Regions from separate parts of the Homo sapiens genome. Here regions 2 and 3 are each linked to region 1. The links are contacts of gene promoters, found by promoter capture Hi-C in human tissues and cell types (Jung and others, 2019). All regions are on one chromosome and are shown on one strand. The core of a region is centred on a gene start or on the middle of the fragment in contact, and the rest is flanking DNA. Distances in the headings are between cores, read along the strand shown. Region 1 holds the start of SMARCE1 (SWI/SNF related BAF chromatin remodeling complex subunit E1). Region 2 holds the start of KRTAP17-1 (keratin associated protein 17-1). Region 3 holds the start of KRT14 (keratin 14).

Region 1 (4,137 bases), core at 799-3,298:
AGAGGACTGCCTAGAGACAACACACAGCGCCTCCCCAGCACTGCACTCGCCCAATCCTCCCACCATAATCCCAAAGGCAGGGAAGAAACCAGGCTGGAGTTGCTGGACGAAGCCAGAAAAAGAATGTACTGAAATCCCTTCTGAGGCCTTTGTGTATCGTACTTTAATCCTTTACATGTCTCTGATGGATATATACATATATATATATATAATTTTTTTTTTTTTGAGACAGAGTCTCGCTCTCTCGCCCAGGCTGGAGTGCAGTGGCGCCATCTCCGTTCACTGCAAGCTCCGCCTCCCGGGTTCACGCCATTCTCCTGCCTCAGCCTCCCCAATAGCTGGGACCACAGGCGCCCGCCGCCACGCCCGGCTAATTTTGTTTTTGTATTTTTAGTAGGGACGGGGTTTCACCGTGTTAGCCAGGATGGTCTCGATCTCCTGACCTAGTAATCTGCCCGCCTCGGCCTCCCAAAAGAGCTGGGATTACAGGCGTGAATATTTTTTAACAAGCAATTTCATGTACATTTTCTCAAGCACCACTCAAGCTGCCTGTCCACGGGGCAGACGACTTCTCCTTTAGTCTTTCTCTTGAATATGCTCTTCAATTTCATTAATCTCTATTCATGAGTATAACAATATTGGAAAAATTGGACAGAGTATCACTTGTTCCTCGCTTTGCAGACTAGAGATGCTTCTAGTCCCTGTTGGCACACTCAGGATGGGGGCTACGGGAAGCCCAAGAATTCAGCCTCTCTCTAAATGTCAACTGTTTTCCAGTAACCACAGGTCAGGGATCCCATACGTTCATTCTCCCTCCACAGTGACCCACAATATCCATCGGGTGTTTATGTATCCAAAGAAGAGGCTACTCATTCCATCTGGTAAACCAACATACTCATGATTTAGTGGAAAGAGCCCTGGAGTGGCACAGAGGGCTGCCTCAATACACACTTACTGAGCGTCTAACAATGAATGGGTCAAGCCCTTCGTAGGCACTGGCAATGGGAAGATGACCAATACAGACGGCTGAACCTTGCTTTCAAGGCCTTCATAAAGCACTGGAGATGACAAACACGGTCCGATACAAAGGGTCGGGTTCAGGACTCCAACCATTATTATCAAAGAGCCACGGGAATACAAAGGAAGGATTACTAGGGGGGAAGTTCCAGGAGGGCATCACAAAGAGACCTCTGAGCTGGATCCAGAAGGACAGATGAGTTTAAGCTGAAAGTGGGGACGGTCGTTCCCGCTGGTGGGAACCGAAGGAGCCGAGGCAGCGCTGAGGCGGAGACCAGGTGGCACCCGCGGCGCTGCAAGGACACACAAGCTGTTGCGAGGGGGTCAACTCTCCGGGCCTTGGCTTAGAAACCTGGGACGATTACACCCTAAAAGCGCTTGGAAAAACTGCAGAACTCGTGCTGATTTTCGCCAAAGCTACTCCCCCGCCGTGAGGGCAGGAAGCCCTGCGAGGCGCCTGCGAGGACGCAAACGCCGCGAAGCAAGTCCTCCACGCCTCCATCCCAGGTTTAGTGAAGTGTAGACTCTGACCCACAGCCTAAAGGAAAGCAAGACCGGAGTCGGGGAGGGCCCCTCCAGGAGCGGGCTCAGCGGGAGTCTGGCCGAACTGCTTGCTGCCACAGTGGTTCCGCGGCCTCGCGCTGAGCGCCATCCGCCGTCTCCCACCGCGGCCCCCACCGCCCCTCCGCAAGGCTCGGCACCTCCCGCCACTTCCTCGGTCGCTGCGGCGGCTCCGGCTCCTCACAGCCGCTAAACCCAGGCCTATTCTGTGTTAGGTCGGGCCTCCTCGGCCCTCTTCGCCGTGACGAATCAGCGCCCGGCTGGGAAAGTATCAAAATTCGGGGAGTTTTGAGGATCCAATGGGTCCTGAAAAAAATCCCTGAGTGTGCTAAGCATCACCGCATCTTCACTAGAAGGTTAGTTTTTCTAAAGAGGGTCGGGTGGGGCCCGGAAAAAAAAAAAAATTAAGAAGAGTGTGGAAAGTGCGAGTGCGGAAGCTCCGGACGCGAGGGGCGGGGCGAGCGCGGGACAAAGGGAAGCGAAGCCGGAGCTGCGGGCGCTTTTTCTGCCCGCGGGTGAGTGTTTCCAAGTGGGACGGACCGGGTCGGTGGGTGCAAGTCGTGGTGTCCCCGCTTGGCTAGACCCCGAGTTCCCGGGGGTTGCTGGGGTTCAGCCTTGGCCGTGGGGCCAGAGCCAGGAGCCGGTTGAGGCCTCCTTGAGGCCTAGCAGAGCGAGGGTTGGGAGGGAGTCCCATCTGGGGCCCCCTCCTTGGAGGCAAGGCCAGTCCCCCGAAATTGGTCAAAGCACCTGTGAATACCCCGTTTTAGGGGAGTTGCTAGTAAAGTACATTCTCCAAGACAAAGAGAGCGACCTCAGGAAGCCGTGGGCAAGGCAGGTCCGTGGTTCACCCCCCACCCGGGCAGAAGGTTCCCCCATTGGTTCAGGCAGCGACTTGAGGACGAGCAGAGCTCTGAAATAGTTTGGCCTGGGTTTGAAACCCAACTTTGGCACTTCCTGGCTGCATATGGCTTCAGACAAGTTGTTTAAACTTTCCGAGACTCCCTTGTTTCATCTGTAAAATGGGGATAGCTGTACATATAAAGTACTTGTGAGTGTTAAGCGAAATAGTGTCATAAGCGTACCCCGTATAAAGTATTTCTTGAACAAATATTTATCGGGTATTTATTTTTATGCCAGGCACCAAAGATGGATCCAACGGTGGACAAATGTACAAGCCCACTCTTAAATTTTGTATTCTAGCAAAAGAGAGCAATAATTTTAAAGTATTAACAATGAAGTATAACGTACAGGGAGCTTATGTTAGTTGTCAGGGTCCCCTGCAGCGAGGCCTGCTGGATGTTGACAGCTCCCTTAATGTGAGCAGAAAGGAAATCTACACCAGAGTCAAAGGTTTCTGGCTGTTCTTTAAGAGGGAAAGACTCAGGTTGGACCATTGAGAAAATGAGCTGTTTCTTTCCACACCAGGACTCATTCCTTATGCTCCAGGGAATTTCCTTAAAATTAATAATAGAAGCGAAAAATCAGATCTATTCCACATGTTTGGTTGCAAATACCTCCAATAGTCATAGAAGTTTATTTGCCTTCTTTCCAAAGATGAATTTTTGTCTTTTTGTACCTCACTATTTGTGATGTATGTTGATGTAAAGAACAAGCTCACATGTGCCTGGTTATGTTGTGAGCTGGTAATACTAGGAAAAAATTTCCTAAGAATTGAGCTAGGTCCTGACATGGTCCCTCTTTCCAAGTAGCATACAATCTAGCCATATTGATAAGTTAAAAAAAAGTTATAATAATATAGATCTGTGTAAACTGTATAGGAATACAGATGGGGGAGCAGTTAATTCTGCCCAGGTAATGTATCAAGAAAGTTCCCTTGAGGAGAAAAATTTTGAAATGGGCTGTGAATGATGAATAAAAGTTTTTCAGGTAGACTCTCAAAATTTATTCCCAGCATTTATGAAGCTATTTACCATTATAAGAGAATGTGAAGTTCATTGTCATACCAATTACCTTTTGCACTGCTTCCAGGAATAAAATGCTGCCTAATTTTAATAAAAATTGTTATCCCAAAAGCATGATACAGTTGCTGATCAGGGAGCTGTCAGTATCTGGTAGGCCTTGTTGCGTTGGACCCTGATAATACATCACTTTCTATTCTCATCCTTGTATCAGTCTGATGAAATGTTTACATGGCGTCAGCAAAATGTTTTCCATACAAGAGGTAGCTTAGTATCACAAGAAAAAACCTGAAAGTACATTTCTAAATATCCCCAGTACTTTATTTTAGTCATTTAATTCTAATCAACCAAATGACCTATAAGAACTAGTTAAAATACACAAAAGGCTTAATTACTAGGAATTAAGGTGAAGTAATTTTACTCAGAAATACCAATTAAATTACCCTATTCATTAGGAAAACATTCTCGTATGCTTGCTGAGTTTTGATTCTCTTTTTTTTTTCCTTTTTTTTTTATTTTAGTGTCTCAGATTCATTCTTAAGGAACTGAGAACTTAATCTTCCAAAATGTCAAGTAAGTTTCAATTTTTATATTTATCAATCTATGTTAATAAGAGACTAATGCCCTAGCAAGTGGGAAT
Region 2 (4,089 bases), core at 1,255-3,754, 670 kb before region 1:
TTTACACAATTGAAATCATAGTGTATAATTTGAGTTGCACACTGAATGTTGTACTTAATCTGAGTAAATGCTCATGAGTATATGAATTGTTAAATATAAAAGTATGATAATTTATATTTTCAAGTTGTTCAAACAACCAAGTGTTCAATATGTATACATTTATATTTACTCATTTAATCAAAACAGCTCTACGACACTGCTACTATTATTATCCTAATTTCTGTTTTATAGATGAAGAAATTCAGGTACACAGGGGTTAAGTAATTATGGGAGCAGCGAGGGGGTGGGTGAGAGGCAGGAGAACTGAATGGTGAGACATTGGAAGATGAGGAAGACTTTCTACTCTTTTGTACCTTTTATCCTGGGAATGCTTGACCTCTTATTAAAATAAATAAATATGTAAAAGGATGTGTCGGCCGGGTGCAGTGGCTCACGCCTGTAATCCCAGCACTTCGGGAGGCCGAGGCGGGCAGATCACTTGAGGTCAGGAGATCCAGACCAGCCTGTGCGACATGGCGAAACCCTGTCTCTACTAAAAATACAGCAATTAGCTGGGCTTGTTGGTGCGTGCCTGTAATCCCAGGTACTTGGGAGGCTAAGTCAGGAGCATCGTTTGAGCCCAGGAGGCGGAAGTTGCCATGAGCCAAGATCAAGCTACTGCGCTCCAGCCTGGGCAGCAGAGTGAGACTCCATCTCAAAAAAACAAACAAACAAACAAAAAAGGACACGTCTGCCATAGACATTGCTGTATTATACTCACTCAGAGGTGCCCATCTGTGGATGTGGTATGGTGGAAGAAACAGTGGACCAGGAGGGAGAACATCTGGGCCATGGGTCCAATCTACCACGGATGTGTCATCTCTGGGCCTTGGTATCATCTTCTGTAAAACACAAGTGCTTGGCAGTGATGGTCATGATAGGATTAGATTATATCAGTGTTTCCTAATGTAACCCAAGTTACCTGAGAAAGTTTAAAATATATAGCTTCTCAAGCTCTCATAAGCACACATTCTGATTTATCATAAGGACTGGAATACAGTTTGGGAATCTGTATTTTTCAAAAGGCCCCCTTTTAGGCAATTCTGATATAAAACCCTGGACCAGATGATGTTTCAGGGGTTCCTCCCAGCTCTAAAATTCCATATCCTGTGAAGTATTGAGTATCATATCAGATCCAAGTAACTCATTCATCATTTACCCTCCCGACTCCCACCCTGTCCTTAGTTCTTCTAGCCCTTCTTAGAGGCTGTCTTACTTCTAGCCCATCTTACAAAGAAAGGGAAATGAAAAGGGAAGGACTAGATCCCTTGATCCAGATCCTTACTCCCATCCCTCCTTCCATTCCCACCCCACCCCTATCTTCTGTCCTCTACCCCTACTAGATGTTGTATTCCAGCTCCAGGGCTGCCATGGGCACTCCAAGAGGAGAACAAGGTACCAAAGTCCAAGAAAGAGACAGAAATTTTGACCCATCTCAAAATTTACACATGGACCTGAACCATCTGTAGATTTTAGACTCCTTGCAAAGGCATTTTATTCCTTGGGATGACACTCTGGGTATTTTGTATTCTAATTTCTCCTTCTGCCAGATGGTCTATAAGGTTCGAACTCTTAAAAAAAGTGCGTTACATTCCCATTTTAATGTAGCATTTTGGATATTTACTGATCTCCTTCCTGCTTTCTTCTTTCTTTTCTTCTTTCCTTTCTTCCTCCCCTTCTCCTCTTCTTCCTCCTCCTGCATCTCTTCCTTCCCCGGTCAAGGAAAGGCCTGGGGCTGGAGTGGGGGTGGGTAGAGGGTTCTGATCTCAGTTCTTCCCACCTATTTAGAGAGAAGTGCGAATATTCAGCTCACCTTGCCGCCGAGACAGACCATGCCTTACCAGCTTCTTGCAGCTTTACGATGAGTCTCTCTCGGTTTCACAGGGCAGTTATTACTCATGACTGATGCTCACCGGCCAAGCCTAAACGTGTGGCACACTCCCCATACCACACACAGACACAAACATTTGCCTGGCTCACATGAACCGGGATGAGGATGCCATTTCCACCTGGGAGGAGCCACGTGACCAGGCGTTCTCAGTAGCCTCCACTGGTGTCAGGGGGAACAGAGCATTCGGCTGTTGCCGGTCTGCCTTTCCAGGACTAGCATCCATGGAAGATGGGGTCCATCGCCAACCTGCGAAGATGTGGAAGGCAAGCCCCTCATTCCAGAGCCAGAAGCTGTGGCCGGCTTCCCCTTCCCATCTCCAACCTGGGCTAATGACAGCTGGCAGATGCTTGGCCATGATGACAGGTCTTTTCGAAGATGTATTTTTACCCTCTGGATAAACAGCAGTTGGCAGGAGTGGGGCGTTTTTATGAGTTGAGGTACTCAGGACTGGAAAATAAACAGCCAGTTAATGAGCCGGTCTTATGGAAACTTGCATAAATAATAACAAAGAAAACATCCCGTCCCTCATGCCTGGGTGAGGGGATATAAAAGCTGCCATCCAGATGGCTGGCCACCGTCAGTCGTGGGGAACTCCGGCTGCGTTACCGACCTGCGAGCTGACGGGCCCGGACCATGGGGTGCTGCCCGGGGGACTGCTTCACCTGCTGCACCCAGGAGCAAAACTGCTGTGAAGAGTGCTGCTGTCAGCCGGGCTGCTGTGGCTGCTGCGGCTCCTGCTGTGGCTGTGGGGGCTCTGGCTGCGGGGGCTCTGGCTGCGGGGGCAGCTGCTGCGGATCGTCTTGCTGTGGATCTGGCTGCGGAGGCTGTGGAGGCTGCGGAGGCTGCGGGGGTGGCTGCTGTGGATCCAGTTGCTGTGGGTCCAGTTGCTGCGGCTCCGGGTGCTGTGGGCCTGTGTGCTGCCAGCCCACACCTATATGCGACACAAAATGAAGACCTTTCCCTCCACCACTGATGCAGTCCCACCGAAAGCCTCCATCTGCTCCAGGGGGACAGCCCCTCGTGTCCAGAACCTTCCATACCCCCAAGACAGTGTCTTGTCTTTCTGTGATTTGTAGAGGAGGGCTTGTTCTCCAACACCTTCTCTGGTATTTCAAGGCACCGAGAACAAGAGCCATACTCTGATGAAACATTAAAACTCGGTCACAACTAAGTGATCCCAAGCTCAAGGGTGAATCCCCAATACTTTACTTATTCACATGAAGTTCAATGTCTTGTACTATAAGACATCCTCTTCTTCAAGGTGTCTTTGGGACTGATCCTCCGCCCTGGCTTTCTGCAGCTTTGAGATGCAAAAAAGGTCCATCTTCTTTGTGAGCCTCTTAATAAATTTGAGCATGCTGGCATAACCTAATTAGTTCTCTTGCCTCTTCCTTGACCTCCCTGCTGAGGACTGGGTTAGAAAAATTCACTCTGGCATCTGCCTTAGGGTTTTTGAATTGTGGTTTTTGGATCACCTGCGTCGGAATCACCTGGGAGCTTGTTAAAACTGGAGACTCTGAGGCCCTCCCTAAGACATACAGAATCAGAATCCACCAAAGTGTGGCCTGGGAATCTGTGTTTTTAACAAGAACCTTAGATAATTCTTATGCACTGAAGTTTGAGAACCATAGATCTAGACGGAAGCTTCCGTGTGCTGCATGAGATTCACTTGAAAAGCTTTTAAAAATATAGATCATTGGGTTTTATCACTGGAGATTTTACCCGTTAGCTCTAGGGCCTAGAGTCCCTAGGGACCTGCATTTTTAAAAGCTCCTGGGTGAATGCTGATGCTGGCCACATTTAATGGTGATTGAGGGGCATGGCTTTCTTCTGCACTACAGCTCTCCTAGGATGGTTCTGCAGGAGGGCTTCAGGCTTGATCAGAACTTTCTGGCAAAGTCGGAAAGGAGGCTTTGGTAAAACAAGATTGGTTCTGAATGGAAAGGATTTCTAATGGCAAAGCTAGTGAATTCACAGTTTCTGAGGATGTTCTGCGCAGTACAGTTCCTTCTTCCAGCCTCATGCTTGGTCCAGTCTCACTTTTCTGTGCTAGGTTGTCTTACCTGGAACCAGCTACGTTTCTTCTGCCTGAGTTCTAAGGAGGAGGGAGTGAGTATACCTCTGCTAGGTAGGGCCCAGCCAAGGTGTGTGGGTCCACC
Region 3 (4,296 bases), core at 1,688-4,187, 940 kb before region 1:
CCAGTTGTTTTAAGCCATCAAATTTGTGGTAATTTGTTATGGCAGCCCTGGGAAACCAATCTTACTTGTCTGTGCTTTTCTTCCATTTGTTTGTATGTTAAGTAATGTTGATGTGCATTCCTGCTTCTCTTTCATGCTGGGACCTTCCTAAAGGCAGGGATCGTCTCTTCCAGTAGGCCATGCACTCCAAGGGCGGGGGCTGTCCTGAGGTTTCCTCCTTCCTTAGGATGCCATCTCCTGGTCCCCAGCACAGTCCTCAGCACACAGTGTGGGCTCTGGAGGTGCTGCCTGGCCCTGCCAGCTTCACCTGTTTGGATTGGCAGAGGGCTCCCCCATGCAGGGTGGTGCAGGGAGACTCACTAACCACAAGAGGTCCTGCCCGGGGCTCCTCCTTTACCCCCCTCCTTTTGGGGCAGGCTGGAGGGAGGGTCAGGTAATGGTGCTCACACAAAGTCTGCCTAGAAGTCCAGAGGTGGGGGGTACTCTGGGCCTCAGCAGTCAGGACTGACAACCCTTTAACCCCTGATGCCCCAGAAAATGCCCTCCCTTAAAATGTCTGAGTACCATGCTTCTTTGGCATCAGGGAGGGGAGGGGAGTGTGGTGTCCTCTAAGTCTGCTCCCTGCTTGGCTGGGTTGTTTGCAGCTCCTTGGTCACTGAGTCCTTGTCTGCAGGGGTTGGCCTCAGGCTCCAGGTTGGGTCACGGTTCTAAGACCGGGTGTGGGGGATCAGGCTTATATTCCATGCTAGGGTTCTGGTGTTGGTGCGTGGGGTTGGGGTGGGACTGCAGAAGTGCCTTTTAAGATTATGTGATTGACTGATCTGTCATTGGTTCCCTGCCATCTTTATCTTTTGGATTCCCCTCGGAGGAGGGGGAGGAAGGAGTTTCTTTTGGGTTTTATTGAATGAAATGAAAGGGAAAGTAGAGCTGTTCCTATGTCCCGGGCTCCGGAGCTTCTATTCCTGATCCCTGCATAAGAAGGAGACATGGTGGTGGTGGTGGTGGGTGGGGGTGGTGGGGCACAGAGGAAGCCGGTACTGGGCTCTGCACCCCATTCCCGCTCCCAGATCCCTCTGGACACAGCATTTTTCTCCAGTGAGCACAGCCTCCCCTTGCCCCACAGCCAACAGCAACATGCCTCCCAACAAAAGCATCTGTCCCTCAGCCAAAACCCCTGTTGCCTCTCTCTGGGGAAATTGTAGGGCTGGGCCAGGGTGGGGGGACCATTCTCTGCAGGGAGATTAGGAGTGTCTGTCAGGGGCGGGTGGAGCGGGGTGGGGCCCTGGCTTACTCACATCCTTGAGAGTCCTTTGCTGGCAGATTTGGGGAGCCCACAGCTCAGATGTCTGTCTCAGCATTGTCTTCCAAGCTCCTAGGCCACAGTAGTGGGGGGCTCCCTTCTCTGGCTTCTTCTTTGGTGACAGTCAAGGTGGGGTTGGGGGTGACAGAGGGTCCTGCTTCTCTTCTAGGAGCAGTTGATCCCAGGAAGAGCATTGGAGCCTCCAGCAGGGGCTGTTGGGGCCTGTCTGAGGAGATAGGATGCGTCAGGCAGCCCCAGACACGATCACATTCCTCTCAACATGCCTGCCGGGGTCTGTGGAGCCTAGGGGCTGATGGGAGGGTGGGGTGGGGGCCGGAAGGGTTTGCTTTGGGAGGTTGTCTGGGAGATTGCTGAAGTTTTGATATACACACCTCCAAAGCAGGACCAAGTGGACTCCTAGAAATGTCCCCTGACCCTTGGGGCTTCAGGAGTCAGGGACCCTCGTGTCCACCTCAGCCTTGCCCTTGGCACAGCCCAGCTCCACTCCAGCCTCTACTCCTCCCCAGAACATCTCCTGGGCCAGTTCCACAAGGGGCTCAAACGAGGGCGCCTGAGCTGCCCACACTAGGGATGTTCTGGGGGTCTGAGAAGATATCTGGGGCTGGAAGAATAAAAGGCCCCCCTAGGCCTGTTCCTGGATGCAGCTCCAGCCACTTTGGGGCTAAGCCTGGGCTATAACAATGCCAACGAGGCTTCTTGCCATACTCGGTTTACAAAACCCTTTCACATACATTGTCGCATTGGATTCTCAGAGCTGACTGCACTAAGCAGAATAGATGGTATGACTCCCACTTTGCAGATGAGAACACTGAGGCTCAGAGAAGTGCCAAGCCCTGGGTCACAGAGGCGTAAATGGCAGAGCCAGGACCCACCTGACTCCAGGCTGTTTCCTGGCCTCCATGAGGCCACCTGCCCTATGGTGTGGTGGATGTGAGATCCTCACCATAGGGAGGAGATTAGGGTCTGTGCTCAGGGCTGGGGAGAGCTGCCTGGATTTCTCTTTGATGGGGATGTTGGGGTGGGAACCACGATACACCTGACTAGCTGGGTGTATTTCAGGGATGGGACAGACTTCTCAGCACAGCATGGGAGGTCAGGCCTGGGAGGGCCCCCCAGACCTCCTTGTCTCTAATAGAGGGTCATGGTGAGGGAGGCCTGTCTGTGCCCAAGGTGACCTTGCCATGCCGGTGCTTTCCAGCCGGGTATCCATCCCCTGCAGCAGCAGGCTTCCTCTACGTGGATGTTAAAGGCCCATTCAGTTCATGGAGAGCTAGCAGGTAACTAGGTTTAAGGTGCAGAGGCCCTGCTCTCTGTCACCCTGGCTAAGCCCAGTGCGCGGGTTCCTGAGGGCTGGGACTCCCAGGGTCCGATGGGAAAGTGTAGCCTGCAGGCCCACACCTCCCCCTGTGAATCACGCCTGGCGGGACAAGAAAGCCCAAAACACTCCAAACAATGAGTTTCCAGTAAAATATGACAGACATGATGAGGCGGATGAGAGGAGGGACCTGGCTGGGAGTTGGCGCTAGCCTGTGGGTGATGAAAGCCAAGGGGAATGGAAAGTGCCAGACCCGCCCCCTACCCACGAGTATAAAGCACTCGCATCCCTTTCCAATTTACCCGAGCACCTTCTCTTCACTCAGCCAACTGCTCGCTCGCTCACCTCCCTCCTCTGCACCATGACCACCTGCAGCCGCCAGTTCACCTCCTCCAGCTCCATGAAGGGCTCCTGCGGCATCGGGGGCGGCATCGGGGGCGGCTCCAGCCGCATCTCCTCCGTCCTGGCCGGAGGGTCCTGCCGCGCCCCCAGCACCTACGGGGGCGGCCTGTCTGTCTCATCCTCCCGCTTCTCCTCTGGGGGAGCCTGCGGGCTGGGGGGCGGCTATGGCGGTGGCTTCAGCAGCAGCAGCAGCAGCTTTGGTAGTGGCTTTGGGGGAGGATATGGTGGTGGCCTTGGTGCTGGCTTGGGTGGTGGCTTTGGTGGTGGCTTTGCTGGTGGTGATGGGCTTCTGGTGGGCAGTGAGAAGGTGACCATGCAGAACCTCAATGACCGCCTGGCCTCCTACCTGGACAAGGTGCGTGCTCTGGAGGAGGCCAACGCCGACCTGGAAGTGAAGATCCGTGACTGGTACCAGAGGCAGCGGCCTGCTGAGATCAAAGACTACAGTCCCTACTTCAAGACCATTGAGGACCTGAGGAACAAGGTGGGTGAATGGGCAGCAGAAGGCACCATTCCAGCTAGCTCCTTCTGGGAACAATTCATGCCCCAGGCCCCTGAGACCTTAAGATTTCTCTATAGGACAGAGTCCACCCCAGATCCCTTCTTTCGAGGTCTTGGATGCCCTAAGACTGATCAGTGAGAAGATGCTTTCCCTTCCCCAGCCTCCTCATCCCCTTCTGATCTCAAATCCTCAGACCATGTGAGATCAGTGATTCCTATCCTTACATTTTTTAGAGGAAGCAGTTGAAGCTTCGAGAGGTGCTGTGACCAGCTGCAGGTCACATAGCAAATTAATGGCAGAGCCAAGGCTGGGGCCCTTGTGCCCTACCTTCCAGCACAGGAGGCAGCTACTTGTTCTCCAGCACAGGGGAGGAGTGAGGCTCTAACGGGACCAGGCAAGACATCCAAACCACTCATTAGCTCACTAGTCTGGGCTGTGGCTGCCGCCGCCCATAAGCCTTGGTACAGGCTGGTCCCTCCCCACAGCCAGGCGGGCATGGAGAGCCTGCAGAGACAATTAGTGTGGTCCCTTGATGTGCCCTGCACAGAGAGAGCCTGGCAGGCTTGTGCCCTGACTCTAGCCCCCTCCTCCCTGCTCCCACATTACTTGGGAGCCCTCCCTGCTGGAGTCTGTTGGGCTCTAATGACTTGCATGGATTAGGGAAATTCAATGATGAGGTGGGGAAATCCAACCAGACTCAGGGGCCAATATATCTTCTTATTCTTCCCCTGAGTCCTCTTTTCTAATCCCCTGTGT

What was found. Contacts are between HindIII fragments. The study calls those that stand out against the background at their distance.
Region 2: the fragment with the promoter of KRTAP17-1 here is called in contact with the fragment with the promoter of SMARCE1 in region 1 in 1 of the 25 tissues and cell types used here (IMR-90 fibroblasts).
Region 3: the fragment with the promoter of KRT14 here is called in contact with the fragment with the promoter of SMARCE1 in region 1 in 1 of the 25 tissues and cell types used here (dorsolateral prefrontal cortex).

Annotation. Positions count from the first base shown.
Region 1 is chr17:40,645,729-40,649,865 of GRCh38, reverse strand. SMARCE1 (SWI/SNF related BAF chromatin remodeling complex subunit E1) reads left to right here and starts at 2,048. Exons shown (of 11, transcript NM_003079.5): 1 at 2,048-2,093; 2 at 4,019-4,070. The coding sequence starts at 4,064. RefSeq lists a silencer at 1,515-1,809. The HindIII fragment of the contact is 9,510 bases long and covers 1-4,137 here.
Region 2 is chr17:41,314,125-41,318,213 of GRCh38, reverse strand. It overlaps KRTAP17-1 (keratin associated protein 17-1), which reads left to right and starts at 2,504. Exons shown (of 1, transcript NM_031964.2): 1 at 2,504-3,302. The coding sequence starts at 2,564. The coding sequence ends at 2,881. The HindIII fragment of the contact is 6,672 bases long and covers 1-3,979 here.
Region 3 is chr17:41,585,536-41,589,831 of GRCh38, reverse strand. KRT14 (keratin 14) reads left to right here and starts at 2,937. Exons shown (of 8, transcript NM_000526.5): 1 at 2,937-3,522. The coding sequence starts at 2,998. LOC124904003 (a long non-coding RNA gene) reads right to left here and starts at 1,485. Exons shown (of 2, transcript XR_007065755.1): 1 at 1,296-1,485; 2 at 881-969. RefSeq lists an enhancer at 4,034-4,296. The HindIII fragment of the contact is 15,142 bases long and covers 1-4,296 here.